4 separate regions of the Homo sapiens genome follow, and regions 1, 2 and 4 are each linked to region 3. Evidence: promoter capture Hi-C in 16 types of primary human blood cells and fetal thymus (Javierre and others, 2016). All regions are on one chromosome and are shown on one strand. Each heading gives the region's core, a stretch centred on a gene start or on the middle of the fragment in contact. The rest is flanking DNA. Distances are from core to core; before and after follow the strand shown.

The links. The method cuts DNA at HindIII sites, captures the fragments that hold promoters and counts their contacts. A CHiCAGO score of 5 or more calls a contact.
Region 1: a contact is called between a fragment that was not itself captured here and the fragment with the promoter of SRSF11 in region 3, in 5 of 17 cell types (total B cells, naive CD4 T cells, naive CD8 T cells and 2 more). The highest score is 9.7, in total B cells.
Region 2: the fragment with the promoter of GADD45A here is called in contact with the fragment with the promoter of SRSF11 in region 3 in 6 of 17 cell types (naive CD8 T cells, non-activated CD4 T cells, monocytes and 3 more); the score reaches 11.4 in naive CD8 T cells.
Region 4: a contact is called between a fragment that was not itself captured here and the fragment with the promoter of SRSF11 in region 3, in 1 of 17 cell types (neutrophils). The highest score is 5.1, in neutrophils.

What each region holds. Positions count from the first base shown.
Region 1 is chr1:67,418,066-67,420,869 of GRCh38, forward strand. SERBP1 (SERPINE1 mRNA binding protein 1) reads right to left here. Exons shown (of 8, transcript NM_001018069.2): 6 at 1,944-2,121. Among named protein-coding and RNA genes, the nearest start is that of SERBP1, 11 kb to the right of the region's middle. The HindIII fragment of the contact is 871 bases long and covers 969-1,839 here.
Region 2 is chr1:67,683,818-67,686,517 of GRCh38, forward strand. GADD45A (growth arrest and DNA damage inducible alpha) reads left to right here and starts at 1,384. Exons shown (of 4, transcript NM_001924.4): 1 at 1,384-1,721; 2 at 2,208-2,309; 3 at 2,533-2,700. The coding sequence starts at 1,678. RefSeq lists silencers at 1,048-1,227, 1,238-1,297, 1,488-1,647, 2,118-2,247, 2,318-2,457 and enhancers at 2,355-2,700, 2,558-2,607, 2,638-2,700. The HindIII fragment of the contact is 4,802 bases long and covers 475-2,700 here.
Region 3 is chr1:70,220,112-70,222,811 of GRCh38, forward strand. SRSF11 (serine and arginine rich splicing factor 11) reads left to right here and starts at 1,269. Exons shown (of 12, transcript NM_001350605.2): 1 at 1,269-1,728. The coding sequence starts at 1,526. RefSeq lists an enhancer at 1,163-1,708 and a silencer at 1,604-1,653. The HindIII fragment of the contact is 2,724 bases long and covers 315-2,700 here.
Region 4 is chr1:68,118,155-68,120,854 of GRCh38, forward strand. All of the region lies in intron 7 of GNG12-AS1 (GNG12, DIRAS3 and WLS antisense RNA 1), which reads left to right. It also overlaps a transcript of WLS not described here. Among named protein-coding and RNA genes, the nearest start is that of MIR1262, 64 kb to the right of the region's middle. The HindIII fragment of the contact is 8,968 bases long and covers 1-2,700 here.

The DNA.
Region 1 (2,804 bases), core at 154-2,653, 2.8 Mb before region 3:
CCTGTGTTAAAGTGATTCTCCTGCCTCAGCCTCCTGAGTAGCTGGGATTACAGGCATGCACCACCACACCAGGCTAATTTTGTATCTTTAGTAGAGACGGGGTTTCTCCATGTTGGTCAGACTGGTCTTGAACTCCCGACCTCAGGTGATCCGCCCGCCTCAGTCTCCCAAAAGTGCTGGGATTACAGGTGTGAGCCACTGCGCCTGGCTGAAACCACGTGTTCTAATGCAGTTTTTTTTCTACAGGACTTAAAAAAGACAATGTCCTCATTTACTACTCATATGAAGTAAATGTTAAAAATCATCTCTAAACCTAAAAAAACTTTTAATCTTTTTAACCTCCATTTTATTTTAAAATGTTTCCAAGTTTGTCTTATAGCCATTTTGCAGTTTAAAAAATTATGCTTATTGGCTGGGCATGGTGGCACACGCCTATAATCCCAGCACTTTGGGAGGCTGAGGCAGGCGGGGATCACTGAGGCCAGGAGTTTGAGACCAGCCTGGCCAACATGATGAAACCTCATCTCTACTAAAAACACAAACATTATCCGGGCATGGTGGCGAGTGTCCGTAATCCCAGCTACTGAGGAGGTTGAGACACAAGAACTGTTTGAATCCGGGAGGTGGAGGTTGCGGTAAGCAGAGATGGTGCCACTGCATTCCAGCCTGGGCGACAGAGCCAGATTCTGTCTCAAAAAAAAAAAATAAAAATAACTAATACCTTATTGAAAGGGTTTGCCCTCACAATATTTTAATTTAACTTTACCTTAGGATGATAAAACTCAGTCTGGATTTCTGGCACAGCCCAATTTATGATATGAATAAATCAAACACAAATGTCAAAAGGTTAAAGGAAGCTGATAGAGAAAATGAATTTAGGAGAAGAAATAATATAGTTAGGGCTTGTATGAGTTTTTAAAGCCAAACAGGAAGCCGCACTGAAACATTCCTCTAAGAACACACCCCAAAGCTTAAACGGAAGCTACCAAATCAAAAGCCATCAATGTGACTTTCTCCAATACAGTTGACCCTTGAACAACGTGGCTTTGAACATTCTGCCTCTGTCAGTCTTGAGACAAGCAAGCCCAATCCCTTTTCTTCCTATCCAAAATAAAGACCTTTGTGATGATCCAGTTCCACTTAATGAACAGTAAATATATTTTCTCAACATTTTCTTTAGCTTACTTTACTGTAAAAACACAGTATATAATACGCAACATACAAAATGTGTTAACTGGTTATGTTATCACTAAGACTTTCAGTCAACAGGTTATTAGTAGTTAAGTTTTGGGAGAGTCAAAGGTTACATGTGCATTGATCTGCGGGGTCAGTGCCCCTAGCATCCTCATGTTGTTCAACAAGTCAACTGTATTTTCACTAGTTTCCATGTTTCTTAAGTAAAACCCACATATACTTTGGTTTTTAAAGTCGTCATTCCTTAGACAAAATGCACATTGCCATTTACTGAGTGTCCTGGCCATTATATATGGTATAGGCAGACAGTTTCAAAAGTTGAATTCTAAATGAAGTCACTTACATTTTAGGTTAAACCATATGAAAATGTCAAGATTTCAACCTAACACCATAATACCACAGCCCTTTAATGATCCCCAGTTTGGCAAGATTTCAAAAATACAACCACAACTTTGAAAAGAACTATCATATTTCTGAACACCAATAACTACAAGATACTCCACTAACAGCTTTTTAGGAAAAAGTAACTCTACCACATAAAACATAATTACAAATTGATCAAAGGACTAAATTTCTTAGAATATGTGATAATACAGTTTATTTTCCTTATAAAGCAAATTATCTGCCCCAAATGATCCTATGTAAAGCTTTAACAGACAAATAACCCATGTGAAATTTTAAAACAAAAATTATAAATACAATTCAAGTCACATCTGAACATTTTCAAACACGACAAAACTTAATTTTACCTCTTCACTCTTTGATTTATGAAGAACAAATCCCTTCTTCCACTGCCCATCAGCACCTTCATTTGGTTTTCGGATATTAAATTCTACTTTTGCCCGGTCCTTATTTTGAATAGCCTTCCACTCATCCAAAGTCATCTCTTTTGGACCCTCCTCTTTTACCTCTTCAACTTCATTCTCCCTGTGAAAAGGTTTTCAAGTTTTATACCTGGTAGAGAGCTGATATTACATAAAAGTATTTTAAATTTATGATTTTAATTGAGAAAATTAACCTTGTAATCTTTTAGAGAAAGATTATTCAAGGATGAGGGTACCCTAGTTTCCTATGTAACTAAGCAACTTGGTAGAGACCAGGAATTCAGTGTTTGCTAATTAGAGACAAGTAAGGAATATGGAATTCATACTTATGAACTCTTAAATGATCATTTATCAGTAATACAATCTAGAACTGGCTTTACGAATACTAAAATACACATTTCTTAAAAACACTACCTTGTTTAAAAACTACCCTCTTATGTAAAATCCTCAGCCTATCTTCTCCTAAACCACATTTTTAATTTCCATAATTCCCACAATATGTAACTCTTAATAACATACAAGAAGGTAATCCTCTAGGATGTCTGTCAGCAACCAGGGTTCAAATTTTGGAATATAAAAGAACTGTTCCTCTATGCTTTGTTTCAGCAACTAGCACTTAGAGCAAATCAAAACAATAGCCGTGTTTCTACAAATCCTAAAATCCTTATACTCCAATTTTCAAACCAACCTGTATATGGAAAGGAGGCCATGGATTCACTACTAATAGAACTATCCACAAACACACACTGGTTTCATTATTTAATACTAAACCATTTATTTCCAAAT
Region 2 (2,700 bases), core at 134-2,633, 2.5 Mb before region 3:
TGGAGAATATTTTGTCTAGAGTGATAAAAACATAAGGGTGCAAAACTTCCAGGTACCTTTGCAGAAATTACTTCTGTGACCTTTGGCTGTACAGCAACCTTAATAATGCAAGCACTGTTTTGAATGCAAGCATGTGGGAGCCATTTTCACCACTTTTGATGACTTCAGTAGGTTTAAGAAATGTTTTTGCTTTTATTGCATAAACCATAAAACAAAGGAAGGGACTTTTGAACTACTCAGTGAGAGTCTATATATTAAAGTTTGTTTTTCAAAAATGTGTAACTACCATTTGCAGTTTTAAAGGTCTGCTTTCCACCTACAAGTTGCCATTATCTCAAAGGTGAAATTTTAGCATATGACTAAAAACTTCCTATAGTTACAGCTTCATGATTCAGCATCTAACATCAATAATTCACAGTGAGATCATAGGAGGCTCTCTGTGGAAGGTAACGACATACATACGTTAGGAAAGGAAGCTTAGGGCATATCGAGAGCATTTTGAATTTAGACTTGTGGGCTGTGTGGGTGTCAGATGGTTGTCTCTCAGCTGGTGGGCGTCCAGAAGGATCCTTGTTTGGGCAAGGCTCTTTGAGAAAGGAGAATCTGGGTTGCCAGGGATTCCCACATGTGGTCACCAGCTCCCCACGCAGACCAGCTCACGATTTCCCAGTTACACCGGGCAGGTGGGAAACCGTTCTGCTTTCTGTGGAAAAGATTCTAACTTGGTTCCCTGCCATCCCTGAATACAAACGGGTTGGTTTTTCTTTTTTCAGCTTCCAACCCTTGCAGCTTTCCAAAAATAAATCAAACCAGCCATCAGGGCACCGAAATAATACTACTGCTAATAAGCAGCTTCGCCTAGACTTAGATAAACAACACTTCTGAGGTAAACTTTGCCCCGGAGGTCTGGAGACACTTTTTTAATGTAACCTGCTTACTAATAATTACTAGACTTCAGTGCATTAACCCTGGAAATAGATTTTAATAGCCACCCCTTAAAACAAAAGACATGAAAAGATAATAAGAAAAAAGTGCCGCAACTATTATAGAAAAACACTTGGCAGCCTGCTTCAGCCCAAGCTGAGGCCACCTCTAGCCTCTGCTAAAGCCCCCCACTCCCAATGGTCCCCGCCAACCGGATAAGAGTGCGCGCGGGACCCGCCTTCCCCTCTCGGCACCGCCCCCGCCCCCGCCCCCTCGGCTCGCCTCCCGCGTGGCTCCTCCCTTTTCCGCTCCTCTCAACCTGACTCCAGGAGCTGGGGTCAAATTGCTGGAGCAGGCTGATTTGCATAGCCCAATGGCCAAGCTGCATGCAAATGAGGCGGAAGGTGGTTGGCTGAGGGTTGGCAGGATAACCCCGGAGAGCGGGGCCCTTTGTCCTCCAGTGGCTGGTAGGCAGTGGCTGGGAGGCAGCGGCCCAATTAGTGTCGTGCGGCCCGTGGCGAGGCGAGGTCCGGGGAGCGAGCGAGCAAGCAAGGCGGGAGGGGTGGCCGGAGCTGCGGCGGCTGGCACAGGAGGAGGAGCCCGGGCGGGCGAGGGGCGGCCGGAGAGCGCCAGGGCCTGAGCTGCCGGAGCGGCGCCTGTGAGTGAGTGCAGAAAGCAGGCGCCCGCGCGCTAGCCGTGGCAGGAGCAGCCCGCACGCCGCGCTCTCTCCCTGGGCGACCTGCAGTTTGCAATATGACTTTGGAGGAATTCTCGGCTGGAGAGCAGAAGACCGAAAGGTGAGTCGGCCTGCGGACTCTTCCGGCCCGAACTTCTCTTACCTACCCCGCGCTCCCCGGTGCAGCCGGGCTGTGGAAGGCTTGCAGGGGAGGAAGCTAAAAAGTTTGCACAGGGCAACTCCCGCCCTTGCTCCCTCGGGACTCTCCGTGGAGCTCCCACGGACTGAAAGAGCGTGCCCCCCAACCCGAACGAGCCCCGCCGGGGCCTTTGCAAAGGGCAGCAGTGGCCGTCGCTGCCCGTGCGGCTCCCGTGGCTGGCAGCCTGTGGCAGGGGCACTCTCGGGACTTCTCACGGGACGCCCGGTCCTTGGGCGTGCAGGGGTCATGGGGGGTGACGGGGCCGCGGGAGCGCCGGGTTTTCGTAGAGCCCAGGTGCGCGGTGGTGCTTGCATTCGAGAGGGAGGGGCGTGGTACCGGACGAGGGGGGCGGCGATGGCCCCGAGGGCACCGGGGCTGACGGGACCCCTCGCCCTTGCCCGCGTGTAGGATGGATAAGGTGGGGGATGCCCTGGAGGAAGTGCTCAGCAAAGCCCTGAGTCAGCGCACGATCACTGTCGGGGTGTACGAAGCGGCCAAGCTGCTCAACGTGTAAGTGGGGCCCTTGCGCGTCCCCCATGGCACCCCTTCCCGCCCCAGCCCGGGAGGTCGCCTTGGCTGGGCGCCCCTCGCCCGGCCGCGCCACTTCCTGTCGCTTTTCTGCCTGTCTCGGAAGGGAGGGGGCGAGCGGGCCGGGCGGCGACCCCCAGGGACCCGGGCAGTGGTTGAGGGCGCCCGCGCTTCTGCGCTCACTGGCCCCGCCCGCTGCCCCCAGCGACCCCGATAACGTGGTGTTGTGCCTGCTGGCGGCGGACGAGGACGACGACAGAGATGTGGCTCTGCAGATCCACTTCACCCTGATCCAGGCGTTTTGCTGCGAGAACGACATCAACATCCTGCGCGTCAGCAACCCGGGCCGGCTGGCGGAGCTCCTGCTCTTGGA
Region 3 (2,700 bases), core at 19-2,518:
TCTGGACTGACCCAGGAAGCTCACAACTTTGAGTGATACATGTCAATAATAAATACATGTATCTTCTGTTACTTAGCAGAAAAGAGGAAGCCCTAACAGCTTGCAGAAGTCATAGCAGTGAGGGAAGGAATGCTCTACAGAAGATGACAGATAAGATGAGTGATGTTATTAATAACTTGTGTATCGGCACAGAGACATTATGGTTTTTGTCATGTTTGGGGCACTACAAGTCACTGGACTACACACTGGATGCAGTTGAGAGAATAGTTCAGATGAGGTTGAAAACAAAAGCAAGGATTTTTTTAATAGTCAAAAGCTTCAAAATTATTTTAAGCAAGAATATGTATGTGAAACAAGTTTTTCTTGAGAAATTGCAGTATTTTCTTTAGAAATATATACTTGAATATATTTAAGTACTATAAACTGTGTTTCCAAAGTCAGCTATTGTGGAATTGGCTGGGTGCAGTGGCTCACGCGCCTGTAATCCCAGAACTTTGGGAGGCCAAGGCGGGTGGATCACCAGAGGTCAGGAGTTGGAGACCAGCCTGGCCAACATGGTGAAACCCCATGTCTACTAAAAATACAAAACTTAGCCTGGCGTCGTGGCAGGCGCCTGTAATCCCAGCTACTCCCGAGGCCTAGGTAGGAGAATGGCTTGAACAGGGGAAGTGGAGGTTGCAGCGAGCCAAGATGGTGCCACTGCACTCCAGCCTGGGCGACAGGGCGACTCTGTCTCAAAAAAAAAAGTCATCCATTGTGAATGAATGTACAAAACGCTTATTAATAAGTGTAATATTAAAATATATCTTTTCTGAAAGTTTTAGTGACAAAACAAATTAGTTACAGATTTAATGTTACCAAAATTCATGTACATTGAAAATTTCGGGACATTTTATACTGGTGGTGGTGGGGTGGCATCTTAGCTTGGGTTTAAATATCATTAGTAATCGGATAGCTCTGTAGATGATTATCAGTATATAAAGACATCGTGAGCAGTATTTAATAAGAAGAGTTGCTGAAGTGACTTTTGCAGGAGGATGAATGCTTTTTTTAAAAAAAAAGTTTATACGTGCCTCTTCGCTCTTCCAAAAAAAAAAGAGAGAAGAAAAAGAAGAATAAAACGAGAGACGAAGGTGGATAACACCTTTCTCTAGACCCCGGTGCCTCTCATTTCTCGGGCTGCAGGCGACGGCTGCTGGGCCTGCGCGGGGTGGAGCCGACGCTGACGCGCCCTGCGCCGCAAAGCATTGTGGGAGCTCGGGCCCGCTAGTGTCGTGGTTGGAGGCGAGGTGGGGCGGCCGTTTGTTTTCTCGTGGTCTCGAGCTCGCGCGCTCTCATCCCCTCCCCCGCGGCGTGCGGCGGGGCGGAGAAACGGCGGCGGCGGCGGCGGCATCGGCAGCAGTAGCAGAGGCTGTAGCATCGGACACCCTCCTCTCTCCCGCAATCCGGTTCCTCTTCCCCCTCCTTCTCACTGTTTGTTGTGTGTTTGATGTGTTAAAGCAGGAGCGAGAACCCGAGCAGCGCCATGAGCAACACTACCGTCGTCCCCAGCACTGCAGGTCCGGGCCCCAGCGGCGGGCCCGGTGGCGGAGGTGGTGGTGGCGGCGGAGGCGGCGGCACCGAGGTAATCCAGGTGACTAATGTCTCCCCGAGCGCTAGCTCTGAGCAGATGCGGACTCTCTTCGGTTTCCTAGGCAAGATCGACGAACTGCGCCTCTTCCCGCCGGAGTGAGTATCGTCCACCATCACTGTTCCTGCTAACGCCGCCTCAGCCTGGGCCTAACACACACAATTTCCTTAGGCCCCTGTCGCTGCTTCCCCGGGCCAGGCTGCTTGAGTGGCTGGTGGCTGGTGGATTTACTTAAGACGGTTGTGTTCCAGGCCTACAAAAAAATGCAGAGAGGCAGGGCCAGGGCTTTTTGGAATTAGGAAACACTGGCTGTTATTCTCGGGAAATTTTTTTTTTCCGCCTTAAATTGTGCCAACGTGGTCGTTTGGCTTTGGGGACTTAACGCAAGACTAACCGCAGTCTGTACGTCGTATATAGGTTAAATCCCTTTTTTAAAAAACTGAGTATTTGTTCTTTGCGTTCTTGGAAGAAAGGTAACAAAATTATTCATGCCTGTGTTAATTTGGTGTTAAACTTTGTAGGTTGTTCACTTATTGTTATTGCTGTTATGTGGTTCTGGCCCAGCAATATAATTCAAAGATCATATTCTTTTTGACAGACGCTTAGTTTAGTGTGAGCCTGATTACTTAATTTGTATAATGTCAAAAAACGGGTTATAAACCAGAGATTTTCCTTTGTTTGAATAATATACAGATTTGTGATATTTCACAGTTGTTCTTGAGAAGGATTTTTATAAATGTTGAAATTTGAATTAGAGTGTATGACTTTTTATCCTTTTTGTCTCACTTTTATTTTGAAAATTATTTCTATCGCAAGAATATTAAGTGGATGAATTGTAAAGAAAAAATAGTTCAAAGAAGCTAAGAAGTAAGATAAAGTGTACTACTAAAACAGACAATTGGAATAATAATAATAGTCTTGTGCTTTTTGGAAGACTTATTGGTGGAGAAGTGACAATTCAAATGTCATTATCAGTAAATATCATATATTGAGAATTTTATGATGTCACTTAAATACTAAACAGGAAATTGGAATCCTCTAAGAATCTACTGTTATGGTACGTGTAACCA
Region 4 (2,700 bases), core at 70-2,569, 2.1 Mb before region 3:
TGGAGAAAAGTTGAGCTACCCGTGTAACAGACAAAAGATAAATATACTAAATCAGACTCTCAAGAAAATGGATAAAGAATCTGAACTGACAACCTAAAAATATCAAGTCATAGGAACATGAAACATGCTCAGTGTTACTGGTAATGAAGTAAATGCAAAATTCAATTTCTGCATCTTGAAGTTGCAAATTTCAAAACTACGTAGTGTCAGTGAGGATGCGGGCCACAGCCTCTCTCATTCTGCTGTTGGCACAGTTCTGGAGGGCTCTGTATGCTTACAGGTGTCCATGATAAATGCTTTTCTGTGTAGCCTTCATCGCTATCACCTTACTATCTATTGCCTCCTCCCTCCCGCCTTCCTTTACCACACCAATATACTTCACAATGATAGGGATATTGTTTACTGATCTGCCCCAAATGCTTACAATAGCACCTGGCCCGGCTGGTTGTGGTGGCTCACGCCTGTAATCCCAACACTTTGGGAAGCCAAGACGGGCAAATCACAAGGTCAGGAGTTCGAGACCAGCCTGGCCAACATGGTGAAACCCCATCTCTACTAAAAATACAAAAAATTAGCTGGGCGTGGTGGCAGATGCCTGTAATCCCAGGCTACTCAGGAGGCTAAGGCAGGAGAATCACTTTGAACCCAGGAGGTGGAGATTGTAGTGAGCCGAGATCACGCCACTGCATTCCAGCCTGGGTGACGAGCAAGACTCTGTCTCAAAAAAAAAAAAAAAAAAAAAAAAAAAGCACCTGGCCCAATATTAGATGTTCAACATATGCTTATTGAATGAATAATTGATCTTTAACCCAGTAGTTCTTAGGAATTGATACTAAGGCAACAATCAGTGATGTACAAAAAAGATTTATATCCAAGGATGCTCATTTCAACATATATTGTAATAGTCAAACTTTGCAAACCACTGAAATGTCCAGTAAAAATTATGAACCATCCTTTTTAGAGACTATAATAGTAAAGTCATGAAAATCATGTTATAGAAGACAACACAATAACATAGAAAGATTTCCTAGATATATTTTGAAAAGGGCAGGTTATATAACTGTCCAGAAATTTATTTTCTATGTATAATACAATCTTAATGTATATAAATCTACACATATATGCATGGAAAAACTTGTGTAAGAACATACTGACATTTTAACAGTATTTATCTTTGGATAGAGTAATTGTAAAATGTTTACATGTTTTTCTTTACTCTTTCATGTATTTTTGCAGAGTTTCTGTGATAGGACCATTTTGTTTTTGAGACTGGATTAAAAACAATGTAGCAGAGGCCATGGGTGCCTCACCCATATTCCTCAAGCTGGCCCTAGTTCCAAGTAGCTAAGAGCCTGGCGGTGGCCCTCTACCTACAAAGGATGGGAGTGGAGTGGCTCTCTCTCACAGCTTCCTCAGCCCCAGGGGACAACTCTGCAGCATGTTCCTCACAGCTTGACAGAGGCCCTGGCCGTGCACCTTGGTGGCTGTTCTTTGCATTCCCTTCTTCTCAGCCTTGCTTCTCCATGCCACCTCAGTGCTTCCTGGAATCACCTTTCAAGCCAGCTACTTGCACACAAATCCTTGTCCCAGAGTCTGCTTTTAGGAGGAGCCCAGGCTAAAAGGCACAAACGCTGTTTTAAAAATCCTGCCCACTCCGTGTAAAGAACATCAGCCAAGCATGGTGCTATAGAAATAACTCCTATCTTGGCTGTTCCTGTGTGTAGTTCACTTTCAATCTCTCAGCATCCCTGAGTTGAAGAGAGATCTTGCTTAACTGGGAGGGAAGGCCAAGGGGTTTCTGGATACAGGAGCCACCTTGGGGATCTTAGAGCCTCAGAAGAGGCAAGGATGTACGTTATAAGAAGGGGCTGTCCAGATGATAAATGAAATTAATAAACCACCCCTGTGATGCCAGCACATGGCTCACAGCAGATCTGCATCAGGCGCCTACCATTGCCCTAGGATGCCATTAACACCTACTCTTCCTTATGAGGCTTAGAATCAGGGCTGCTGAGGACTTCAGAAATCATCTCATTCAGGTGGGGTGAAGGGGGTGGGTAGCTTCCCTGAGGGTCCCACAGCAAGAGTTAGAGACACAGCCAGGACCAGAACTTACTGAAAAGCAATAATCCAAGGTCTGACTTGGGTTCTGAGGATTTGCTCAGTTATAGATGTCATTCTCGATTTGGCCTGAAGAGGGCAGACACTTGCCATTCATGGAGGTGAAGAGCTTGTTTTTAAGGCTGGACTAACATCTCCCAATAAGGTCATTTGGTTCTAGTGAGAGTTGCAGCTCACAACATTCTTGACTCTTCTGCTGCAAATATGCTACTGGAAAGACACTGAAGTTCACAGACTGAAGTTCCTTTAGTTCCAACTCTGGCACTGTAATAGGTGACCTTGCACAGGTCACTTCACCTCTCTGAGTCTCACTTCTTGTGAAGTAAGATCTCTACTCCGTGACTGAGAAGGTGGTATTGGGGAGTGATATGTAACTTACAAAGTTGCATATTACAACACACATCACTGCTGTTAAGTTCTGTGTGTGTGTGTGTGTGTGTGTGCGCGCGCGCACATGTGCACACTCGTGATGGAGAGAGCTTGATAAAGGAGAGAGGCCTAGGCCAAAGGAGCTTTTTCTGGCCTCAGGTGAATATATATTTGTAAATTCTCTAGCAATTGGAACCAATTCACTTTGTA